3 separate regions of the Homo sapiens genome follow, and regions 1 and 3 are each linked to region 2. The links are contacts of gene promoters, found by promoter capture Hi-C in blood cells and fetal thymus (Javierre and others, 2016). All regions are on one chromosome and are shown on one strand. Each heading gives the region's core, a stretch centred on a gene start or on the middle of the fragment in contact. The rest is flanking DNA. Distances are from core to core; before and after follow the strand shown.

Region 1 (2,700 bases), core at 1-2,500, 1.6 Mb before region 2:
TCTGAACAAGAGGAAAGAGGTCCACTAAGCTAGTTGCGAGACAAAAAGAGAAAAGGACAGGAGCAAAGTCCCAGCAAATGGAAAGAGTGAAACAGAATGGCATTAAGTTTCAGAGAAAGGCATGAATACCTCATCTGAGACTTAATGGAAAGAAACAAGAATGGATGCAGGCACACAGAGATTTATGGGAGTAAGGGAAAAGATGAGGGTGTTCTGGTGAGACAGCTTCACTTTCTCAATCGGTTGAAAGCAACCATTCACCTGGTACTTCCCACTCTTCTGAGTAAGGCTAACCCAATGCTGGTAAACAGCTATGTTTATTTTTGTTTTTGTTTTTACACACAACTCACACTTCTCTGAATAGCCATGTTTAAAAGCTTAACTGAAGAGCTATTACAAATACAAACCCATAAAGTAATCAGGAATAAGTCATCAATCTTTCCAATATGGTATTTGGGAGAAAATATACTTAGGATTACCCCTGGGTTTAGAGATTACCTTTAAGCCATTCAGAGAAGACTGTGGCTCTGATTAAGATCCATTCTCTTGTCCCCTCCTTTGGCTGCCATTTTCCAATGCAATGATAAGGTCTGACAGCTGGTAGAGGCAGACATCTGATGAATGCAAAGACTTTTATTTGTCCAGATGACAGAAGAATGTGAAGAAACTGGTCATTTGAAATCTAGCTCCATCATGCTCTCCTTATCGCCCTTTTTCCATTGCTTCATTCTTCCCTAGCTACACTTTCAGGTTCCAGTTCTCAATGTTCCATGTGATTTGAAAGCTTTCACTGCTGTTCCATGAGATTTCGCTCCACTATGAAAAGCCCCAGGCTCCTTTTAATTATCAAAATCTACTTCACATGCATCATGTTCTTAACAACCAAACACCAAACTCCCAACAAAGCTGCTTAGTATCACTTCAGTATCTACACTGTATATGTTTGATCATCCTTGTTATTAACAAAAACAGCCCCTTCCATAGGCAGCAATACAATCTCTTACGTTGTATCCAAGGTCAGTAACAAAAATGACAGATCGGTTGGAAAGAATGTCACATGCATGCATGTGTGTAAATATGCACATATTCATCTACTAAGAGTGAATAATTATTTTTGTAACTTTATATATAAAACACCAACCATATTACTTTTCTCTTGCAAATATTTCATTTCTTTAGAATGACATACAATAGAGTGGGATTCATTAAAAAATATGAGTGGTTGAATTTCAAGTAAGAAATCTATACAGGGTTTGTTAACTTCTTGGAATCTTGCTAACTTACATCAAATCTACTATTTTGCCTTTGTGTTCTGTCACAGCCATTTGTAGCTACTTTCTAATTTTCTAATCTTTCATTTCCTATAAAATGCTTTACATGTCAAAATAAATTACTAATTCAGACATTGCTATGAAAAACAGAAATCCCTTTGATAAAAAAAGGAACAGATATTTGGATTATGGAGCATAAATTATACTCTGGTATATTTATGCAAAAGGGTTAAGGCCAAAGAAAGAATCTGCTTGCTTATTAAAAATGCAAACATTACCTCAGTCATACAAATAGCCCCAAACTCGCCCAGCCACTGCCTCTGCAGATCACCCACCAGCATTAGCATTACATCATATGACATTATGAAACAATAGTGAACTCTGTGTAATACTTCAATATATTGTTTTGAAAGAATAAACTGTCATTAAGTTGAATAAAAGCTTTCTGAAATCAAACCTGGGGGGTACAGGCTTCACTGTGTGGCCTTTTTACTATTTTGAGGAATGGCCTCATCCTGAAAGCAGGAAAGGGGGAAAAAAGAGTCAGAGTATAAAGGCGACAGTGATGCCTGGCCCCTGCAGCAGCCCAGCAGGCAGAGGGTAGGGCTTTTAATTATCAGGCAGAACAACGTCAAAGCAGGAGGCTCTGCAACAAATGCTGCACCTCAAAACCCAAACAACCTCATACCCACCACGCTAGTTCCTGTATATCCTAGTGATTTCTATAATGGGCTTTGCTAGAATTGGAAACTAAGTCTTATTCTATGTCCTGATGCAATCTTAAAATGTGCTATCACTTACAGCCATGTGACTTTAGGCAATTAATTTAAGCTCTCTAGGCCTCAATATTTTAATCTATAAAAACAGAAAGAACAATAGCTATTATGTAGAAGCATGGGGGATAAGATACTATTATCATAATTAAACTTATCATTTCCACCCCCTTTGCCTATCTTTCCTAATCACGGCCCAAGATGTTTCGTCTTCACAAGTGAAACATGAGCATCACCTTCAATGCTCACTGGCTTTTTGTTTGCTATAGTCTGGCCACAGCCACATGTTGTCATTTCTAGATTCACGCCACTCTCATCAAGTGGGGGTTGGGGTGGGGGGGATGAATTATACAAACTATTTTCTATAGTATTTTTTGAAACTCGGGCCGGGCATGGTGGCTCATGCCTGTAGTCTCAGCACTTTGGGAGGCTAAGGTGGGAGGAGCACTGGAGTCCAGGAGCTCAAGACCAACATGGGCAACATAGTGAAACCCTGTCTCTACAAAAAAAAAAAAAAATGTATTTTAATTAGCCGGGTGTGGTGGTGCACACTGTAGTCCCAGCTACTCTGGAAGCTGAGATGGGTGGATCGCTTGAGCCCAGGAGGTGGAGGCTGGAGTGAGCCATGATCTCATCTCTACCTTCCTTAACCAAAT
Region 2 (2,700 bases), core at 149-2,648:
TTTTCTTTGTGTTTTTTGTGGATGAAATAAGAAAGTAAGAATTCAGGAAAGTTTCATAATAATTGATAGCAAATGTGCAGATAAGTAATTGAGTTTGGAAGAATTTGGTCTGTTTTCATTTTGTAAACATTCACTATGTCCAAACTCTGTGCTACGTACTGTACTAACCAGTGGAGATACAAAGATGAATTACACTTGATAGTTACCCTACTGATGTTAAGGTAGACATCGACATTACAGACATATTCCTGGAAAAAAATTTGGTAAATTGTTTGAGGGAACAGGCAATAACTTAAAAAACAAACAAAACAAAGGAGCTTTAGGTGGACCGGACACTGGAGTGACACATGATAATCTCATCTACTTTTCATGTCACCTTTGAGAACCTCTCATAAAGCAGGAAACCGACTCTGGGACATTGAATCTCTGTCCCAAGTTAACCTGGTTAATAAAAAACAAAGCCAGAATTTATACCTAGTCTGTCTGAACCCTAGGGGCCAAATAGTCCTGTATTCCAGACAGTCTTTGGGTACAGATCCCAGACCCTCTGGCCCTGTGTTTACTACCATCCAGCCCATTCTCAAAGGGCATGTGGGCTCTTCAACTTGGGAATAATGTTTATTGGGTGATCTGTTTCTCTATACCTCTCATCCTCGAGGCTAAGAGGGCTCAGTTCCTTAAGCTTTCACCAGCTGGCAGAGGCAACTGGAGCAGAAGGTAGGAAGTGGATTTATTCAGCTTTTTTTGTGTGTGTTCCTTATTAAATATATATTGACAGCTCCTTATTTGTTGCGGTTAAATTGGTGTAAACTCTGAATTTACATTAAATCTGTGAGGTCAATTTCCTCATCTGCGTGTTACAGATGAAATTATCCGTATATTACCTTTCAGGAGTAAGTTGCCAAATAGTCTTAAGGTTTTATTATTCCAGGTCTTAACAGCTGTGCTACGAATAGCTGCTGGTGCTTGATACATGTTGAATGACTGACTAGATGCAAAGGATTTAAAAACAAGTGTTTGAGAGGGTAAAGCGCAGAGTAGTTTGGGTGCCCTATTTTACCTCTCCTTGTCAGCTGCGGGTGTCAAGACGGGTTGAGGGAGGAGAGCCAATGCACCCCGCTCCAACAAAGGGTCAGCAGCGCGGGCTCCTCGGAACGCTCCAGAAGACAACCCGGGCGCCCCGTTCACCCTGGCTTTCCTTGGTTCTGCAACGCGACCCGCGCGCTCGCGTCCCGGCGGATTGGAGCCATAGAAAGCGCACCGGGCGCCTTTAAATGCTAATGAGAGTCCAGGGCCCGACTCCCGAGCCAAGTTTCCCCACCCTCTCCCCTCGCCCGCCCTTCCCTCCCGGGCCGGTGCGCCGCCTAGAAAAACTTGTGCGGGGCCATTTTTGGGGCAGTAAGATCGAGCGAGGAGCCCAAGAGAGAGCGCGCAGCACGAAGCTCGAGCCGCCTCCGCCGCGCGACCCCACCTCGGCCGCCGCCGCCTGCGCCGCGAGATCCGCCCCGGCCTCCCCGAGAGCGAGCCCCGGCCGCCGCGACCACCAGCCGCGCTAACCGCCGACCAACCGCCACCGAGGCGCCTGAGCGAGAGCAGAGGAGGAGGAGGCATGAGTGAGGCGGGCGAGGCCACCACCACCACCACCACCACCCTCCCGCAGGCTCCGACGGAGGCGGCCGCCGCGGCTCCCCAGGACCCCGCGCCCAAGAGCCCGGTGGGCAGCGGTGCGCCCCAGGCCGCGGCCCCGGCGCCCGCCGCCCACGTCGCAGGAAACCCCGGTGGGGACGCGGCCCCCGCAGCCACGGGCACCGCGGCCGCCGCCTCTTTAGCCACCGCCGCCGGCAGCGAAGACGCGGAGAAAAAAGTTCTCGGTGAGTCAGGCCAGGGAGGGCAGGGGCTGCCGTAGTGGGGCGGGCCCAGCCGGCCGCGGAGCACGTGTGGGCAGCTCGCGCTACATCTCCCACCCGGGCTGGAGACGCTGACAGCACAGGGTCCCCAGGGATCTCCGGGTCCCCAGGGGTCTCCGGGTCCCCAGCGCTGGCCGCCTCCCTTGCCGGCGCTCCCAGGTGAGCGCGCTGCGCCCTGCGCTCCTGGCGGCCGTGTGCATCTCCCTTCTGGTTCCGGGCCAGAAAGTTTAGGTCTTAACTTCTGTCTCCCAGACGGGCACTGTTGCGGATTCGCGTGGTGGAAAATGCCTGCGTTTGGAGAAGAAAGGAGAGGCAGTCTGGGAGAGGGGACCTTGGGTAGGGATGGATGTAGGGGAAGGACCGACACGTGGGCCTGGCGCTTTGGGGTCCTTGCTTGGGATCTGGGAAAGGAGAGCATTTCCTTTGGGGAAGAGGAGGGCGCTAGAAGGAGACGGGGAGGGAAAGATAGAAAAGCTTCTTGCCAGGAAGGGTCAGGTGTCTGTCCCTGACGCCCTTCCCACATGGGCATGGGAAAGACGCCATGCTCCTGTTGGCCACATGCCAGCAAAGAGATGTTGCAATCGTCTCCGGGAAACTTGGGTCTTAGTCCCACGTCTTCCTCCCCCTCTCTGTGCCCACGGCTGCAAACAGCCATTCAGTGTCCACCAATGGCTACACGCTTCCCTCTTCCCGGACTGTGGGAACGCACGTGGTGTAGCAGCTGAAAAAACTTTGTCGGAAGTGGGGGTATGACGTTAGTTCAAAACATTGTTACCTTGGCACTTGTAACGTA
Region 3 (2,700 bases), core at 178-2,677, 1.6 Mb before region 2:
ACACCACTGCACTCCAGCCTGGGCAACACAGCGAGACTCCGTCTCTAAAAACAAACAAAACACAAAACAAAACAAAAAAAGAAACAGGTTCATTGTATTAAAGCACCGAATACGAAGTTTCTAATAATGGAAAGGTCTACTTTGTAACTAGCATGGATTACCCCATGTAGAGAGATTCAAAAACTGTGATAGCTCTACACCCTGAACCCTGAAGTGTATCAGATGATAAAAGATAAAACACACTTGCAGATCAGTCCCTTGTTGCATCAGGAAAATCACTGCAATGGGAAATTACTCTGGTGTTTACTTTTCTTTGGTAACTCTTTCAAACCTAGCTTTAGCAACATTGTAATTCAAGAGTCATCCTTTGGTTACAAGTAGAGTTAGTTTCACACAATGGACCTTTGTTCACAAGCATTCTCAGTCAACCTAATCCTCCTGTAGTTATTGGTTAAGACTAGGGTGTGTAGCTGTTGGCCGTACAGGCCTAGACTTAACTTGCAATTGCATAGCGCTTCAGGTCTGCAAGCTCTTTCAAAACAGAGGTGAAGATACTGTCAAAGGTTAGACCATATGGCAAACTAAGTGTCAATGGTTTAGTAACGTTGCATTTGTGTGTGTGTTTATGGAGGTGGGGATGGGGCCAGCAGTAATTTAGAAACTTCCACAACCTATGCCCTATGCAGTTCTTTTCCATTCATTCAGTCAACAAAAATATTTTAGTTAAATATTTACTGAGCACCTATTGTGTACCAGGCACTATGCTAAGTGTTAGGGATACAGTTTTAATATATGTTACAGACACCAGCATTTTCACCATTATTATCCTATCTACAAACAATAAATCCCGCAGAAAGCCAAATACCTTCCCTGAAGTTTGTCTTGCAGATAATATTTAACTCAAGAATTGCCATCTTTAATTGAGGACTCCATCCTCCAATTATGGAAAGAGGATTCTCAGAACTATGCCCCCAATAGGATGCACTATAAGCCCTTGAACATCAAAAAACTGCTCTCAGTGGTTGCCTCTGAGGAGGGAGACTAGGAGACTGGGGCACGGGGGTGAGGGGTAGACTTGTCTCTGTGTCTATTTTTGTACTGTTTGACATTTTCCCCATGTGCATTTATTTTAACTTGCGCGGGCCGCGAGGCAAGGCTCACCTGCAGACCCTCGGGCCACCAGCAGGGAGGCACGCACTCCCCCTCGCAGCGCGCCCAGCCCGGGGTCAGCGGTGTGGCTGAGCTGGGGGGGAGCGCGGGGCGGTGGGGGGAGCCACCTCCCTGCGGGGCTCAGCGCTGGGGCCGGGAGCCCGGAGCCTCCGCGGGGAGGGACGCGCTAATGTTGCCGGGAAGCAGCTCCGGGTTGCAGGGCAGGAACGTGCCCTTCCCCCGCGGCAAACTTGCCGTCGCTGCGACGGAAGCAGGAACTTGCTAACCACAAAACCCGCCAGGCCGGTGCGGGAGCTGCGGAGCATCCGCTGCGGTCCTCGCCGAGACCCCCGCGCGGATTCGCCGGTCCTTCCCGCGGGCGCGACAGAGCTGTCCTCGCACCTGGATGGCAGCAGGGGCGCCGGGGTCCTCTCGACGCCAGGTAAAGGGGTCTCCCCAATACCCACCCCCGACCGGCCGCAGGCGACGTCGCTACCTGCGGAGAGAGTCGGTCCCCTCCTTTCCAGGGGCCGAGGCTCCTTCACCCACACCCGAGCATCCAAAGGACCAGCTGGGGCCAATAAGGGCTGACCAGGATCCTTGAGTCGCTGCAGTATTCCAAAGGGGACCTCTAGGCGGGCTCAAGGCACCTGCCATAAATGGCTCTGGCTCTGCGTTGACATCAGAAGGAGAGGCAGAAGAATAGCTCAGTAGGCAACATGCATTTCCTCAAAGGAAGAGAAAATGTTCCCTGTTTTCTTGTCGTTGACTCTGTATTCATTATTGAAACTGCTAATTGTCTAATTCTCTGTAGAGTGTGTGTGTGTATACAGTTATAAGCATCTTGGTAAATTATAGTGTGCTGTAAGACGATTTCCAATATTTGAACTAATTACGTGCGAGTAAGTTTTAGCGACTCTTGTATGCAGACGTTAAAACTCAGGGGCATCCTCTCTCACCCGCCTGTATCCTTTTACCCCGTCTTTCAACAAGATTCAACTCGACTTCAGGCCCTTAAAGCCTAAATAATAATGGATTAGAAAACGTCGCTAACCTAATATTGCTGAGCCTCTTTAATGATATAAAACTCTTAAACACTTCTCTCAATGCTGCATACTGAAAACAACTCCTGCCCCATCTCCTTACATAGTTCAGGTTTCTTTGCAAAAGCTTGAAAAGAGGCTACATTAGAATCCATTCAAAATAAAGTATTGGCCTGGTTTTCTCTTGATTCCCTAGAGGCTTGCAAAATATGGCAGCGTATTAAGTACCTTGGCCAGAATTATTAACCTGGGGAGTCCACGATAAGGTATCCATGGATAGAATTCAGGATGTCTGTGAACTTGAGTGGAAAAAATTATTATTTCACCGACTTCTGAAATGGAATGTAGGCAAAAGCCACAGTAGTATTAGCAGTAGCTATGATTTGCCCCCTGTAAATATTGCCGATATCTTTATATCACATGACTTGTTGCACGTTTCAAAATATTATCTATACTCAATACCACGTCAAAATTATGGCAGTTATTAGATGACCACTTGTTACTTAAT

What was found. The method cuts DNA at HindIII sites, captures the fragments that hold promoters and counts their contacts. A CHiCAGO score of 5 or more calls a contact.
Region 1: a fragment that was not itself captured here is called in contact with the fragment with the promoter of YBX3 in region 2 in 1 of 17 cell types (M2 macrophages); the score reaches 5.9 in M2 macrophages.
Region 3: the fragment with the promoter of MANSC1 here is called in contact with the fragment with the promoter of YBX3 in region 2 in 1 of 17 cell types (M2 macrophages); the score reaches 6.1 in M2 macrophages.

Annotation. Positions count from the first base shown.
Region 1 is chr12:12,365,208-12,367,907 of GRCh38, reverse strand. The region is part of intron 2 of BORCS5 (BLOC-1 related complex subunit 5); the gene reads right to left. Among named protein-coding and RNA genes, the nearest start is that of BORCS5, 9.5 kb to the right of the region's middle. The HindIII fragment of the contact is 928 bases long and covers 787-1,714 here.
Region 2 is chr12:10,722,021-10,724,720 of GRCh38, reverse strand. YBX3 (Y-box binding protein 3) reads left to right here and starts at 1,398. Exons shown (of 10, transcript NM_003651.5): 1 at 1,398-1,871. The coding sequence starts at 1,610. It overlaps LOC124902876, which reads right to left and starts at 1,669. Exons shown (of 2, transcript XM_047429946.1): 1 at 1,061-1,669. The coding sequence starts at 1,611. RefSeq lists silencers at 1,283-1,502, 1,523-1,622, 1,753-2,152. The HindIII fragment of the contact is 1,699 bases long and covers 685-2,383 here.
Region 3 is chr12:12,348,969-12,351,668 of GRCh38, reverse strand. It overlaps MANSC1 (MANSC domain containing 1), which reads left to right and starts at 1,427. Exons shown (of 4, transcript NM_018050.4): 1 at 1,427-1,591. RefSeq lists a silencer at 1,117-1,426. The HindIII fragment of the contact is 5,175 bases long and covers 1-2,321 here.